2 separate regions of the Homo sapiens genome follow, and region 1 is linked to region 2. The links are contacts of gene promoters, found by promoter capture Hi-C in human tissues and cell types (Jung and others, 2019). All regions are on one chromosome and are shown on one strand. The core of a region is centred on a gene start or on the middle of the fragment in contact, and the rest is flanking DNA. Distances in the headings are between cores, read along the strand shown. Region 1 has its middle 330 kb from the start of CADM1-AS1. Region 2 holds the start of HTR3A (5-hydroxytryptamine receptor 3A).

What was found. The method cuts DNA at HindIII sites, captures the fragments that hold promoters and counts their contacts. A contact is called where the count stands out against the background at its distance.
Region 1: a contact is called between a fragment that was not itself captured here and the fragment with the promoter of HTR3A in region 2, in 1 of the 25 tissues and cell types used here (lymphoblastoid cells).

Annotation. Positions count from the first base shown.
Region 1 is chr11:115,068,797-115,071,680 of GRCh38, forward strand. No RefSeq gene overlaps it. Among named protein-coding and RNA genes, the nearest start is that of CADM1-AS1, 330 kb to the right of the region's middle. The HindIII fragment of the contact is 6,637 bases long and covers 1-2,884 here.
Region 2 is chr11:113,973,487-113,976,373 of GRCh38, forward strand. HTR3A (5-hydroxytryptamine receptor 3A) reads left to right here and starts at 1,622. Exons shown (of 9, transcript NM_000869.6): 1 at 1,622-1,906. The coding sequence starts at 1,840. RefSeq lists enhancers at 1,185-1,846, 1,847-2,506. The HindIII fragment of the contact is 12,101 bases long and covers 1-2,887 here.

The sequences.
Region 1 (2,884 bases), core at 310-2,809, 1.1 Mb after region 2:
GAAACCTCATTGGATCTCTCCTCAGTTTCCAGGGGGCAGCACTTCAAATAACCTGCTTGCCATGGGTTGAATTACGTTCGCTAAAGACATGTTGAGGTCCTCATCCCCAGTACCTGAGAATATGAACTTATTTGGAAATAGGGTCTTTGCAGATGTAATCAAGTTAAAACAAGGTCTTTTGGGTAAGTCCCTTCATCCAATATGCCGATGTCCTAATGAGAAGCAGAGAATGCCGTGCACTAACAGAGACTCCAGGTGAGGACAGAGGCAGAGATGGGGGCCATGCAGCTGCCAGCCAACAAGCACCATGGCGAGGACTGCCGGCCACAGCCAGAAGCTGGAAGAGGCTAGGAAGGATACACCCCGAGTCTCAGAGGGACCATGGCCCTGCTGGCAACTTGATTCCTGACTTCTACCTCCAGAATGTCCAGAGGGAAAAAATCCTGTTGTGTTCAAGCCGCCCAGTTTGTAGAACTTTGTTAGAGCCATGAGAAACTAATAGACTGCCCAACACCAATCCTTACTATCATCTGCCCATGGAGAGGCCTCTGAAGCCAGGGTTTCTATGCATTCCTCACTTTGTTCCTACACAGATTCACTTATGCATACATTTTTAGGGAGAGTATGCCAGGAGATGCAGTTGGAAAGGCCTGGGAAGCAGTGAGGAGCCTTAGAGAACAGGCTGTGGCTGGGTCTGGCTGGGAAGTCACGAAAGCCACTGCCCCAGTCAGCTCCCCTCCCAGCCTTCTCATGCTTTCTCCCTCACGCGGTTCCCTGAGGCCTTATCACATCATGGGAAGAACATGGGCCTTGGGGTCGGTCCCATCTAAATTTAAAACCTGGTTTCATTAGTTCTACTAGCTGTGTAACCTTACTCAGCCTCTCGGAGACTTTTTTCTCACCTGCAGATTGGGGGCTGTTGGGAAAATTAAATATTACATAATATGCAGCAATTGTACTGGCAATTATACTAGTATGAGTAGTAATCATGTGATGTGAGTCTCTGCGGCACCAATGCTTTCTTCGCAGATGAGAACTTACTTAACTCCTACAAAGATCTTCTGAGTGACACCTTTCCTAGCGTCTGTGCCATAGGCCAATGGCTGGTAAATTCTTTCTGATCATGGCTTGGTGAGACCTCTCAGCCAATCTTCCCGTTTGCTGGTAATGTTTAAAATGGTGCCCCCAAATTTCAGGTACTTTAGGAACATGAAAGAATTGTTCTCTAATAATGCCAAAAATATTATTGCAGTTAATGGGAAGAATGGTACTATTTTAAATAAACATGAGTGAAAATGTGCATTTTCGACTCAGCTATTGTTGTATAAATGAGTTGTGGACTGTGGTTCTAGATTTACTTCCAGAAAGACTCCCTTAAAGCCCCAGGCCGGAGCAGAGAAGCCACAGACAGGGCACTAAACTAATCTATAGGTGGAGACTGAAGCAAGATGAAGCTCCTGCTCCATCCCCATGGATAGGTCCACACCTCAGATATGCCCAGTGGTCAGCCCAGCTATTTTCAGGCAATCAAGAAGTTGGGACTATTTTTGACCGCTGATGATTTCATAATTTGCAGAGATGTTGATATCTCCATATGCCGCCTCAGAGTGTGATTGTCTCACAACAAGCATGAGAGAATCGCACCTCGGCAAGGAGTTCAGTAAATTCATCTGTGAAACATATTTCAATTCCAAAGGCAATTTTCTAATTAGAAAGGACACACAAAGCCTTCGCAATCTGTGAGCAGTTCTCTCAGCGGAGCTTGGTCCTGGGCTAAACCAAGCCTGAATATGAGTCACCAAGTGCCTTGCTAGTCCAAGACACGGGCTCCCCAAAACCCCAGGACCTTGGTTTGAAATGGAGTTGGGGCTCAAGGTCAGTCAGGCACCAGGACCTCCCCCGCTACCAGGACCATTTCCTTACAGACTGGCCCGGAAGCTACATGGACTTAGTAGGCAGGAGAGTCTTCACCCATTCAGCATTTATTTACTGACGATGTGCCAAGGGTATGACCAAGAAAGACATGATTCTTGCCATTCTGGGGCATACACAGGCACAGGGACACAGCCAAGAGAGCTGGGCCCTATTTCTAAAGGGAATTTGGAGCATTTGACAGAACAGGCAGACAGGGTACAGAAAAGGGCACCTCATGATGTAGCTCACCTTAGTAGGAGCCTTCCATTAAATCACATCCCACCTGGCGTCTCAGCCTGGCACCGAGGTCATTGAAAGTGGTCATTGTGAGGAGGAAGAGCTGATGCGGGGAGAGGAGACACCCAGGCTGCAGAAGCAGCAGCATCCCCATCTGTAAGCAGCGAGCGTGAATGCTCAGTCTGTCTTTCTTGATAGACTTGACTTTTAATCTCAACTTTACCCCTAACTCAATAGTCTTTACCATCTCCCCTTCCTGGTTCTCAGCTTCCCCCTCTCTGAACTAAGAAGAATCCTTCCCCACTCTTTCCAATGATCCATCAAGGTTGTAAAAGCCAGTGAGATTCTGAATGGACATGTGTTCAAGCTCTAAAGAAATCCCAAGAAGCGTCACCTGCAACCAATCAATCATTAAAAAAAAAAAAAAAAAATCTCCACAGGAAGCAGCACAGAGCTCCCAGGCGCTCCTGAGTTGCTTCCCTCGCTCTGTTGAATAGGGGTTTGCACCTTCGGAGCACCCTTCCTCTCTCTCCTTTACATCTCATTTCATTCCGGTCTCCTCTCCCCCAGGCCACACTCTCACTGATCCCAGAGTCCTGTGCCCCTCTTCAGCTCCAGCCGCCATCATCAGAAGCCTTGGGCATTTGTTTTCTCACTGCACGGGGCTGCACACTGATACATTTGTACCACAGGAAGCAGAAAACTAGTTTAACATCTCATTTATTTCATAGAT
Region 2 (2,887 bases), core at 372-2,871:
TCTGGCTCTATAAATTCTCTAAAAGTTTGGGGCCCTCTTTCTATTCACTGCCCTCATATCCATTCCCCTGAGGGAAATGCTTGGAGCTAATTGTCCATGTTTTTCTGGATTGTGCAGTGATGAAGCACATGACTTAAGAGAAGAGTAGCCCAGGCTCCCTGAACTTGACTGCACGTTGCAGAACCACACCCCGCTAACGGCCACAGGAAAGGACCCCAATGGTGAATGGTATAATGCTTTATGCAGATTTCATAATGCACAGGAATAAGAACTGAAAGGATGCAGCCCTGACCAAGGTAGTTTCTTTCTTTTTTTCTTTCTTTTTAACTTACCTACAATTCAGAAAATTCCTCCTTACTGCAGGGTTCCTAGCCTATTCCACACTTAGAGTCAAGTGGAAAATAAATTAAAAAGGAAGAAAATGTTTTGTTGTTGATACTTAACTTGATTGGTACGGGGACATCTACCCAAATGGTGAGCTAGGGTAGGACTCCTTCAAATAAAAATGCACAGTAATTCTTCTTGCAGGCAACTTTAGGGGTACACAGCTGAGGCCTGAGGGATAGATACTTGTCTATTTAACTTGCAATGAAGAAAGAAACACTTCTTTCAAGAAAGACGCTTCCATTTAAGAGGAAGGTATTGAAAATGCTTCCGAGGCCAGGTGTGATTGCTCATGCCTCTAGTCCCTTTGGGGGACTACCAAAAATACAAAAATTAGCCAGGCATGGCTCGCATTTGTAGTCCCAGCTCTTCAAGAGGCTGAGATGGGAGGATCAGCTGAGATGGGGGAGGTTGGGGCTGCAGTGAGCAGTGATTGCGCCACTGCACTCTAGCCTGGGTGACAGAGCGAGACTCTGTCTCAAAAAAAAAAAAAAAAAGAAAGAAAGAAAAGAAAAGAAATGCTTACGAAATGATATCAAGCAAAAAAAGAGGGCACAAAATTATATGTATGTGATATTTACTTCATTGTATACACATTACTGAAGAAAATTATGGAAGAATATATACCAAAACGTTAAGAGTGGCTGTCTCTGAGTCATAAGTTTACAGATGATTTTAATTTTTCTTCATATTTTTCTACAAAGTGCATGTATTATTATTATTTTTACTATATGTATTTATTATGTATGGCAAGAATGCATGAAATAAATATGTATAGTAAAAGTTTATTTTTATTATATATTTTATTATTTTTAATATATATTTTACTATTTAAGTATAACTAATTAGATGAGGACAAAAGGGCAGACCTGTGGTGACTCCAGTTACCCTTCCCGTAACTACAGAGGTGCCCAGTCACCTGCTTGGTTATGTCACCCTGGGGAGTAAAAGAATGGTCTTCCTGCTCCTGCCTGACTCACCCTATCCTGCCCCAGCCCAGTGCCACAGAAACATACTTGCCAAGGGACATCAATGAAAGCAGCAGCGTGGTGCACCTCCCAGGGGTCAGGCTGCACCCTTGTCTCATGGGCTTCTGCAGCCCCTGTCCCCACCTAAGTTACTCCTTGGGGAAACATGGCCAAGCCCCCTGGCTGAATGGGTGGACTGAGCTCCCACAGCATGACATCAGCTAGGGCGGGCTCCCCTCTCAGCTGTCCCCTCCCCTTTCCTCCCGCCTGAAACATGATCCAGCTGAAGGACTGATTGCAGGAAAACTTGGCAGCTCCCCAACCTTGGTGGCCCAGGGAGTGTGAGGCTGCAGCCTCAGAAGGTGTGAGCAGTGGCCACGAGAGGCAGGCTGGCTGGGACATGAGGTTGGCAGAGGGCAGGCAAGCTGGCCCTTGGTGGGCCTCGTCCTGAGCACTCGGAGGCACTCCTATGCTTGGAAAGCTCGCTATGCTGCTGTGGGTCCAGCAGGCGCTGCTCGCCTTGCTCCTCCCCACACTCCTGGCACAGGGAGAAGGTAAGCAGACTTCGGGAAGCAGCAGGACTTGGCTGACCATCTGCTGAGGTGGGGCAGGGGATGCTTCAGTCCTCCGAGGGCTGTGGAGAGGAGGGTGGGGAACAGTGCAGCTGCAGGAAGGTCAGCTATCTTACCACCTATGAGCATGACAGCATTTGAGGCATCATGGTTAAGCTAGAGAGAGTTAGGAATGTTGAGTCCTGGGGTGGGGCAAGAGCGGAGCTTGCAAAGAAGGGAGCAGAGAAGTAGCCTGGCGTATCAGAAATAAAAAGACAGGCACCAGGAGGGGGCTCCTCTCCTTTTTGTCCTTTCCCTAAACTATTTGAATGAAAGCTGCAAGGGACCTTAGAACTCATTGGGTCCACCCTTGCCTGTTATAAATGGGAATGCTGTGGCCCAGAGAGTGGGGAGCGGATAATTCATTCAAGGTCACACAGCTTGTTAGCAGCAGAGTGGGGACCAGAACTAGTCTAGTCCTCTTTCCTCAGCTTCACTGGTTTTGTTGCATGAGTTCGTTCTCTGGGCCTGCGGTTCCCCAAGTTCCTTTCCAGGACTAAACTCCAGTAACGCCCAATTTCTCTCCACATTCGCTACACCCATCTTCTCCTGACTCCCTTGAATGTAGGGTGTTTTAGCCACAAAGGGACCGGCTTCCTTTTGCTGCAGACCATGTTCATTCCCCTCTAGGAGGTTTCTCTCCCTACAGAGCTGGGGTGGAGCATACTGGGGCACAATTAGAGGAAGCCATCCAGGGGTTGGACAGACGTGAAGAGCTCTGGGTAAGATGTCCTTCCTCCCGGGAGCGGTCGTTTGGGAGTGCTCCGTGGGTTAAGCAAACGCAAGCTGTAAGTGATGACTGTGGTCGAGGGCTTCCTTGACTGAGAAGAAACTCTGTCCCTCCTAGCAATGGTCCTTTGCCCCGGGCCTGCTGGGATGAGTTCAGTGCTCTCCAAGCTGGTCAGGATCCCAGTCAATAGGACC